Linked DNA regions of Homo sapiens: region 2 is linked to region 1. The links are contacts of gene promoters, found by promoter capture Hi-C in blood cells and fetal thymus (Javierre and others, 2016). All regions are on one chromosome and are shown on one strand. The core of a region is centred on a gene start or on the middle of the fragment in contact, and the rest is flanking DNA. Distances in the headings are between cores, read along the strand shown.

Region 1 (5,481 bases), core at 233-2,732:
TCATCACATTGGCCAGGCTGGTCTCGAACTCCTGACCTCAAATGATCCACCCTCCTCGGCCTCCCAAAGTGCTGGGATTAAGGGAGTGAGCCACTCACCGTGCCCGGCCGAGATCACCTTTAAATAAACTATTGGCACTCAAAGCTCTGTCTCAGGGTCTATTTTGGAGGCACCAAGAACCAAAACATCACTCCATTGCTAAATTCATTTTAAAATGACAATCTTGGATCCCTGGAGAGGCAAACTCAAAACCTGTTTGGGTGGTGCTTGCAACCCAGCCAACAGGAGCTGCTCTTAGCTCTGATTTTTGCTTGAACAATGCTATAGTGAGGTTGTGTTGATTTAGGATGCCCTGCTCAGCCTATATTAATAATAATAGTAATAAGAGCTACTGTTTACCAAGAGCTTACTGTGCGGCAGATTCACATGCTTCATTTCATTTAATCCTCACAGTGACTCCGTAGGGAGGGTACTATTACTATTTCCATTGTATTGATGAAGATCCTGAGGCTCATGGAGGTTAAATAACTTTTCAAAGTTACATAGCTAGTAAGAGGCAGATTGCTGGTGTGCTTCAGCAGTGTGTTAAAATGTGTAGATAACTATAAATATTCTTCTGTTATATTTTTGTGTAAATGGGAACAATAGTACTTGGCAGATAAAATTTGCATCGTTAACAATACCATAAACATAGTGTAATGCAAGGATCTCCCAATCAGGTGAGAGCCTCAAGAGGATAAAACTGTTCCCTAGGCCAAGGTGGGCAGATTGCTTAAGGCCGGGAGTTAGAGACCAGCCTAGGAAACATGGCGAAATTTCATCTCTACCAAAAATATATATATTAACAAAGTTTAGCTGGGCATGGTGACTCACGCCAGTAGTCCTAGCTCCTTGGGAGGCTGGGAGCAGAGGTTCAGTCAGCCACAATTGTGCCATTGCATTCCAATCTGGGTGACAGAGTGAAACCCTGCCTCAAAAAACAAAACAAACAACAACAACAAAAAAACGGCTCCCTGCCATGCCTGGCTTGGTACAGCTTATGCACTGGGCTTGGGTTACTAGTGGTAACTAAGACTTTTCCAGCATTATTTAAGTTGTGTAGAATCTTCCAATGTTTTGACCTCTGTTAAAGTCAAACTTCTCTTTGGACTCGTCCCTTCACAATCCCCAGGCTAGATGATCAAAACGCAGCCATCTTACTTAAATATGACAATATTCAGTGAGATGCGCTACAGATTTTTGCACAAGTTCAAGCTTTCTTGGAACAACACATCCCTGTTAGTAATATCCGGCCCCACCTAGTAACCGAGGTAGACATAGAAACTTAGATCTTAAGAAGATGTCTTTCCCAATTACTATCTTCTCTAAGACTCCATAAAGAAAAACAGACTTTGAACCCAAGTTATCTTATTTATTTGACCCTGCTGTCATAAAGCGTTCAAATTCAAGTATTATAAAGGATTGTAACAGGGAAAGCATTTAGGGTTTTCAGGCAGAGGAACAGTTGGCCAAGGAAGTCAGCTTCTCAGAGCTCAAGAGGTAAGTGGTAAGACTGTCTTATATAGAAAGTAGAGAGTCATACAGATTAAAAACAAGCCAAGTGAGGGGAATACATTTTGAAAAGTTGCTGTCTCGGTGGAGTGGAGGGAAAGAGAAGACATAGATTTGTCCCCTTAATAGGGCTGGGTGAGGTCTGGCAAGAAGCCTGCACTCTCAGTTTTTATTGAGTACTTGTAGTGCAGAGCGCTTGAGAAAACTCTACTATTGACCACATTCTGCAGTAATCACTGTTACAACACTGTGATAGAAATCTTTTTGGCAAATATTTAAAATTACAAAAGAATCAATATTAGTAGTAATTGCATCTTACGAAAAGATTGATGCAGGCTTGTCTGCCAGAAAGGGTGAGCCTGGCATGAATGAAACTTACTCCTGTCAGGGCACGCCTGGGACAGGGGAGGAGTAGAGTAGGTATAGGTATATTTCAGCTCTTGTAAATTAATACTGGTGTTAAGGGGAGAGAACTCCCAGTGGCCAGGGACTGGAAAAGATTAACAGCAGCTTTTTTTTATTTTTTTATTTTTTATTTTTATTTTTTGAGACCGAGCCTCACTCTGTCGCCCAGGCTGGAGTGCAGTGGCATAATCTTGGCTCACTGCAACCTCCACCTCCCAGGTTCAAGCAATTCTCCTGCCTCAGCCTCCCGAGTAGCTGGGATTACAGGCGCTCGCCACCATGCCTGGCTAATTTTTTTTTTTTTTTTTTGCATTTTTAGTAGAGATGGGGTTTCACTATGTTGGTCAGGCTAGTCTCAAACTCCTGACCTCAGGTAATCCACCTGCCTCAGCTCCTAAAGTGCTGGGATTACAGGCATGAGCCACTGCACCCAGCCTAACAGCAGCTTCTTAAAGGAAAAGAATATTAATCTAGGCAGTAGATTGGGTAGTAGGGTGGTTGAGAGTAGGGTGGTTAAGAGCATGGTCTTGGGAGTCTGGGTTCAAATCCCGACCTTGACATTTACTGTCTGTGGGATCTCAGGCAAATTACATAGTCTCTTTAAATCTATAGAAACGACCTCAGGAGGGTTGTTAGGAGGCTTAATTGTGACTGAAATGATGTATGTAAAGTGTTTAGCACAGTCCCTGTTGCGCAGAAAGTTTTCCGTATGTGGTTCGCTATATTTATAGTAGTACTCTTGAAAGGAAGTAATGAATATATGTTTTTTTCCCAGATGGAAATGGAGAATATCTTAGGGAGAGGGAGAGTTGAAGCAAAAGCAAGAAGGGAGAAAGGACACCTTTATTATTTATTATTTTTAGTCCATTGGGTCAAGGGGAAGAGAGAGAGAGAATAGTGGGAGAAAGACAAGATTAACATGGTTTAAACTAGAGGCCATGTTTCAATTGAGGCTTTTCTACGTACACACCATTTGAATCTATGGGATTTGGAGTAGTCTCAAAAACTCTCTATTATCAGAGAACATCTTTACAAAAATGACCCAAGAAAAACTTTCAGAACAAGAATTACTTTGTTCAGTAGGGACTGTCTGAGAATGAGACAAGTTTCATTCTGCTAAAATGAAATTCTATCAGTTTCTCTAGGGAAGACTGGTTTCATCTTCCCCAGGGCACCCTGACGCTGCTCTATCTGTCATAGCCTATTTCCTGTGGTTTTATGTTGCTTTTAAAAAAAATTTCTTACTACTAAATGTACTTTGAACTTAGTCAGACAGGGTTGTTTAATTAAAAGCTAGAAGTAGTACCGTTATAGCTGGGATGATTCATCTGGGACTTCACTTTAAATGCATAATAGACAGAAGGAAGGTTCACGAACTCATTGCAGACCAAAGTACAAAACCAACTGCACTATTTTTCCCTTAGTAGATCTGAGTTTAACTCATTAAAGATGGCATGGAAGAGCAGTGTCATAATGCAAATGGGAAGATTTCTTCTCTTAGTAATTTTATTTCTGCCACGTGAGATGACAAGTAAGTTAAAGTTCTTTTTGGCCTCTTTTTAGATAAAGAAAAATTTCCGATTAAGAAAAGTGATCAATGGGCATTGGATATATCCTTAAATTCCAAATTGGAATGACTACACAGTTAGCATGGCTCACAGTACAGGAGTCAACTAACAATAAAAAATCAAATGGAGGCCAGGCGGGTGGCTCACGCCTGTAATCCCAACACTTTGGGAGGCCGAGGCAGGTGAATCATGAGGTCAGGAGATCGAGACCATCCTGGCTAACACGGTGAAACCCCATCTCTACTAAAAATACAAAAAATTAGCCTGGTGTGCTGGCAGGCGCCTGTAGTTCCAGCTACTCGGGTGGCTGAGGCAGGAGAATGGCGTGAACCCAGGAGGTGGAGCTTGCAGTGAGTGAGCCGAGATTACGTCACTGTACTCCAGCCTGGGCGACAGGGCGAGACTCCGTCTCAAAAAAAAAAAAAAAAAAATCAAATGGAAAAATATTGTTTTTAGGGTTTTATTATTACAAGACAAGGTGAAGTATTCTATTCTCTCCAGAGCCACCACCAGAATCCTCCTACATTTTAATGCATTTTATTACTAATGTTACCCCAAATAATCATCTGTTTATCTGAACATACCATTTCACATGAAAATCTTTCCAGCATTTGCTCTCCTACCACTCTTTTCTGATTTTAAAAGTAATGCATAGTCATTGTAAAATAAATCAGGCAATCTATAAAAAAAAAAAGAAAAGTACAAATCCCCCCAAATACTTTCATCCAGAGATGACAACCACTCAATATTCCATATTTTAATAAAATACTAGACAACAATACCATTATCTTTACAAGTAGCTTAAGTTTTTTGCTTTTTTGAGAAGAAGTCTCACTTTGTTGCCCAGGCTGGAGTGCAGTGGTGTGATCTTGGCTCACTGCAACCTTCATCTCCCAGGTTCAAGTGATTCTCCTGCCTCAGCCTCCCGAGTAGCTGGGATTACAGGAGCCCGCCACCATGCCTGGCTAATTTTTTTGTATTTTTAGTAGAGACAGGGTTTCACTATGTTGGCCAGGCTGGTCTCAAACTTTTGACCTCAGGTGATCCGTCCGCCTCAGCCTCCCAAAGTGTGGGATTACAGGCATGAGCCACCATGCCCGGCCAGCTTAAGTGTTTTAAAAGGAAGGTTAATGTGTTTACAGAACATATTAACAAATGTTATCTGGGGTACAGGTTTATGACAGATAAAGTTCTTTTTTAGCTTTTGTTACTTGCTTCTGAATCAGAAAAATAAAAACCGAAATTCAGGTGTATTACTATGCAATGAATAGGTTTCTAAAAGTCAGAGCTGAAAAACAAAACAAAACAAAAAAAACCTGGTATGTATCCTGATCACCCAACCCACAAAGACTGGTCTACCACACAAACCTCAACTACTTAAACATCTTTTTATTTTTCTTCACTGCCAAAACAATATTAAAACATTATAGATGCAAGACCCAATTTGTCCATAATCCTATCATTTAAGCAGAAAATGTTTTCAAATCAGTTCTTACTCATCTGCATGTGCAATTTTGATACATTTGTAGTAATTATTAGAGCTTTAATTTATATTCTGCCTTTTTGCCTAAAGTTTATACCTTAAATATTTTTCCATTTCATTCCCTTGCTTTCCCACTTTCAATCCCTTCAAGTAAACAAATTAAATATGGTATGTGTATATGTATATACATATATGCATGCGTGTGTGTGTATTCAATATATATGGGTTTTTTCCTGTCTTTTTTCCATGAAAAAATACTTCCATGTATACACACATACACACATATGTGTATGATCATTCTGTATGTATTGATTTCTAACCTGATGCTTCTCAAATCACCGGGGGTCGGGGGGTGGGGTGCCTTTAAACAACACAATGCCCAGATTGCACTCATGTCAACTAATCAGATGTCTGGGGATGAGAATCAGGCATCAGTACTTTTTTTTGGGGGCAAGGTCTTGCTCTATCACCCAG
Region 2 (5,438 bases), core at 122-2,621, 98 kb before region 1:
TGGGAACTGAGCCAGGGAGTCAAGTAGCTAAACAGGAAATGTTGCCATGTAGGACTGAGGGTTCAGCTGAAGTTGGAGAGCACACATATGGACTATAGCAAATTGCCGTGACAGTGTGACCACTCTAGGCTGTACTTGTAATATTGGTATGGAGAAAAGAGATAATGGTAATTACTGAGGACTGGAGGGCAAAGCAGTTATGTCAAAGGGGTGTACAAGACCCTTAGGAGAATCATTGAAAAGGTATGTCCATGGGTCTACCCTACAGAGAAAGGTAAATCAAATCAAAAGGGTTAATGGTCTAAGAAAACAAAGAGAAGATAAGGAACTAGAAGCCAAAATGAAGGCGAAAAGCAGAAATCATGAGAATGAGCATAGAATGTGATGAGAAAATATGCAAAATCCAGCCATTTAATTTTTATTTTGATGGTTGGGACACTATACATTCTCTTATTACTCCACGTATGTACTTCAAAAAAACATATATGTCCAAACAGAAAGCAATAATTCTCTAAGGTGAAATGAACAGCTGTACTCCTCTAGTAGAAACTCTGAACAATCTCACAAGATTCATTTGCAGAGGATGAGGGAATGGGAAAAGTGGAAGGATGGAGGACTGTGACTGGAGAGTGCAGAGTTACAGTAATAATATTCATTACCTATAACCAATAATAGTACCAATATAACCAATAACAATACTAAGTCAGTAGTAACACCAAACATTGAAACTAACAAGCTTAGTTTACAAGCCTCAACTTTTAACATGTTTTCTAAGACAATTTTTATTTTTTTGAGACAGGGTCTCAGCTTTGTCACCCAGGCTAGAGTATAGTATTGTGATCAAGCTCACTTCAACCTCAATCTCCTGGGATAGAGCAATCCTCCCACCTCAGCCTCCTAAGTAGCTGGAACAACAAATGCATGTCACCACAACCGGCTAATTTTTTTTTTATTTTTTATTTTTAGTAGAGGCAAGCTCTTGCTATGTTGCCCAGTCTGGTCTCAAACTCCTGAGAGCTCAAGCAATTCTCCTGCCTTGCCCTACCAAAGTGCTACGATTTCAGGCATGAGCCACCAAGCCTGGTCCTAAGAACGATTTTTAAATTAAATTTTCACACACACACACATTTTAACATTCCCGATTGTAAGAGTAATCCATGTTTATCATAGGAAGTTTGGAAAATACAGAAATTTCTGCCTGCTTTTCCTTGCTATATGTAACTACAGGATCTTAAATACCTTAGACTAAAGTTTGGCAATTTTTTCCTGTAAAAAACCAGAAAGCAAATATTTCAGACTTTTTAGATGCAAAAGTCTTTGTTGAAACTACCCAACTTTGCCCTTTGATCACTGGATTTTCCTTCTTTAGTTTGTTAATATAGTAAATTATACTGACTTACTTTGAAATGTTGAAGGAGAAAGCAGCCACACACAATATATAAAAATATAGCTGTGGCTGTGTGTCAATACAATTTTATTTACAAAAACAGGTGGTGGGCAAGATTTGGCTCCAGAGCTATAATTCATTAAGCCCTTATCTTGGCCTACTTTACTGGGCTTATAACTTATTTGTCAAATGAAATAAATTGACATGTATATGTTCCAGGTACTGTGCTAAAACCATAGATAAAAGGCCAATGGAGAAAGACATGTAGTGTATTCAAAAGTGAGGTGGGAAACAGGAGAAAAAGCTATTTTTCGGAAACAGCTGAAAAAGTCATGCTTTATTAACTATGGAAGCACTTGACCTGAGTCTTGCAGGACTTTAAAGCATATTTTTAAATAAAAGAATTAATTTTGTAACATTTTATATTCAAAGACAAGCCTACCTTGGAATAAGAAAGTGCTATTTGTTGGAACACAGCATCATCTGGTGATTTACTATATGTGGCAAGTCCTTGTTCATCATCATCAAAAGGGTAGTTAACCACCAAAGAACCTATAAGGGAAAAGAGGAAAATGTATCATGTTGTCTGTTTCAAGATGGATTATTAACATAAAGCTTTTCAGAATACTGCCAGAGAAGAGAAAACAATAAAATTTGCCAAGCAGAATTTCCTCAACAGAAATGAAAATTACACTAATTTCTTCAATTCAAAGTGAATAAGTGAGAAGATATCTTTCAAATGGCTAATTTTCTAAAGCCACAAAAAAAGATTTATAGTACTTCTACCAAACAGTCTACCTCAAAAAAATAATTAGCATCAATACGGAAAGGACTAGCAACAAAAGAAAAAAACAGATATACGGGATTCCATCAAAATCAAAAACTTTTATGCATCAAGAACATAAGAAAGAGAAAAGACAACCTATAGAATGGGGGAAAATGTTTTGCAAGCCTGATAAGGGTCCAGTGTCCAGTATTTAAAAACTCTTACAACTTAACAACAAAGACAAAAACTCAATTAAAAATTGGACAAAGGACTTGAACAGATATTTCTCCAAAGAAGATAGATAAATGGCCAACAAGCTCATGAAAAGATCCTCGGCATCATTAGTTATTGTGGAAATGCACACCAAAACCAAAATGAGGTCCTACTTCTCACCCACTAGGACAGCTATAATAATAAAAATAGAAAATAATAAGTGGTGGTGAGGATATGAAGAAACTGGAACCTCATACATTGCTGGCGGGAATGTAAAATAGTCCAGCCTCTGTGGAAAACAGTTTGGCAATTCCTCAAAAAGCTTAACATGGAATTATCATATGACAATTTCACTCCTAAGTGTACACCCAAAAGAACTGAATACAGGGGCTGCGTACAGTAGTTCACACCTATAATCTCAGCACTTTGGGAGGCCAAGGCAGGCAGGTGGATTGCTTGAGCCCAAGAGTTCAAGATCAGCCTGGGCAACACTGGGAGACCCTGTCTCTACAAAAAATTAAAAATAAGCCAGGTGTGGTGGTGCATGCCTGCAGTTCCAGCTACTTGGGAGGCTGAGGTGGGAGGACTGCCTGAGCTCAGGAGTTTGAGGCTGCAGTGAGCCATGATCACACCACTTACACTCCAGCCTGGGTAACAGAGTGAGACTCTGTTTCAAAACAAGGGGGGCACGGGGAAAAGAAAACAGGAACTCAAATAGATATTTGAATGCCAATGGGCATAGAAGCATTTTTCATTGTAGTCAAAAAGTCAAAACAACCCAAATGTCCATCAGTACGTAAATGGATAAAGCAAATGTGATATTGATATATACATATGTATATACAATGTACTATTATTCAACCATAGAAAGGAATGAAGTACTGATATATGCCACAACATGAGTGAACCTTGAAAACACTATGCTAAATGAAAGAAGCCAGACACGAAAGGTCACATGTTATAGGATTCCATTTCTATGAAATATCCAGAATAGGTAAATCCCTAGAGACAGAACAAAGATTGGTGGTTACCAGAGGTTGAGGGGAGAAGGGAAAGGGGAGTCACTGTTAAATGGGTGTGGGGTATCCTTTTGCGGAGATAAAAATGTTTTGGAACAAGATAGAGGGGGTGGTTGCAAAACACTATGAATGCACTAAACGCCACTGGAATTATGTAAACTTCACCTCAATAAAAAAATTAGTATCAAAATTTTTGAAATTTTATGAAAAAGAATATTGCTTTCCCCTATCTTCTTTCAAGATCCTTCTAAATTATAAAGATGGCAGGGAAAGGAATCAGAACATTCTGCCCCAGAATATAACTCTTTAGCATGTTAATTATTTAGAGCTGAAGGCAACTGAGAAACAGCAGATGCAGGAAAGGCTATCTACCCTCCCTCTTTCTGCCTAAAATTAGGGCATAAATTTCCCGTGAGAAAGGCACCTTCCTGGTACCATCAGAGATGGGATAGTCAACACCAAGATGAGTTGACACAAACAAACCTTAGTAAAATAACCCTCATCTTTCATTAGTTTCCCCCGCATATTTCCTAGTCACTTTCCCACAATTTTTTACCCCTAGAAGTCTAAACCCCTTCCTTTGTGTAGTCACTTTTCCACAAGGTATTACCCTTTGTTATAAGAGCACTAAGTCCTTAACACTGCTTTTTTGAGGGTTTCACGTCTTTCCTATGAACTCCCCCACTGCCTGTTGCCTGTGCCACATACAAACATCAAATAAAATTTGTATGCTTTTTTCTTTTAATCTGTCTTTTATCAGCTTAATTCACAAGCTCCAGCTGCGGACTCTATGAGGATTTTTTACTCCTGTACAGCAACAAAGAAATTCTCCTTCAAACTGCTTTGCCAAGATTTCAAACTCCATTTAAATAAGGATTTTAAGATGAGAAAACAAAATATGTCATGGAAAGAAAAATGTCTGCATGACTGAAGATTCCTACCTCTCACCATGCCAAGGTCTGGACACCACATCTGTAAATCTGTGACTTATTTTCACTGGAATGTAACTATTATTAACTTTCCAGATTTAGCCAACATGATGTGTGATTTATTATGAGACTATTTTTAAAGCTCTAAATAAGTGAATTTTATCAAACATAGCATTAAACACATAAAATATAATAAAAGAAAACAAAAAATTTATTTTGCCAACCAGGGTATAACTTCATAGTTCTTATTTGACTCTTTGAGAACAATATATGATTACCAACTGTAGAAGTACTTTTTTCTACTATTGGCAATCTTTCAAAGCAATTTTTGGAGAATCTCAATTAACCTCCTAAATCTAAATATCCATCAGTATGTACTGTCATTCTAAAATGGCAGGCTACTCTATATGACATGAAGTCTCCACTATGGTACTTCTGGATATTCCAGTAAATGTTGAAACTAAATTTCTTCCCCATTGCCCCTGGTGCTAATACTTGTCACTTTTTTTTTTTTAGTAGTTTTACTGATGTAATTCAAATACCATGCAATTCACCCATTTAAAGTTGTTTATATTCACAGGGTTGTACAACCACTACCACTATCCAGTTATAGAACATTTTCATAACTCCAAAAAGAAACCCCAAAATCCATTAGCAGTCACTCCCCTATCACCTCTTACCACTATTCACTCCAGCCCAATACAATCTTTAATCTACTTCCTGTCTCTATGGATATGCCTATTCTAAAAATTTCATAAAAATATAATCAACTTGATAAAGAAAAAAATAATAATCATGCACTATGTGGTCTATTATGACTGGCTTTTGTCACTTAGTGTAAGGTTTCAAGGATCTATGTTGTAGCATGTATCAGCACTTGATTCCTTTTCGAGCCAAATAATATTCATTGTAAGGACAGACCACATTTTATTTATCTATTTATCAGATGATGGTTGTTTGGGTTGTTTCAACTTTTTTGTTATTGTGAATAATCCTGAATGAACGTTCATGTACATTGAACATTCATATACATGAGCACTGTACATTAAATGAGTGAACATTTTGTTCAAGTGAGTTTATGTGTGGACACAGTTTGGTTCTCTTGGGTACTGATATCTTCACTC

What was found. Contacts are between HindIII fragments. The CHiCAGO score rates a contact against its expected background, and 5 or more counts as called.
Region 2: a fragment that was not itself captured here is called in contact with the fragment with the promoter of TMIGD1 in region 1 in 1 of 17 cell types (neutrophils); the score reaches 6.1 in neutrophils.

Annotation. Positions count from the first base shown.
Region 1 is chr17:30,330,058-30,335,538 of GRCh38, reverse strand. TMIGD1 (transmembrane and immunoglobulin domain containing 1) reads left to right here and starts at 1,482. Exons shown (of 7, transcript NM_206832.3): 1 at 1,482-1,539; 2 at 3,381-3,487. The coding sequence starts at 3,406. The HindIII fragment of the contact is 5,890 bases long and covers 1,257-5,481 here.
Region 2 is chr17:30,428,273-30,433,710 of GRCh38, reverse strand. It overlaps CPD (carboxypeptidase D), which reads right to left. Exons shown (of 21, transcript NM_001304.5): 8 at 1,830-1,939. Among named protein-coding and RNA genes, the nearest start is that of GOSR1, 46 kb to the left of the region's middle. The HindIII fragment of the contact is 1,266 bases long and covers 739-2,004 here.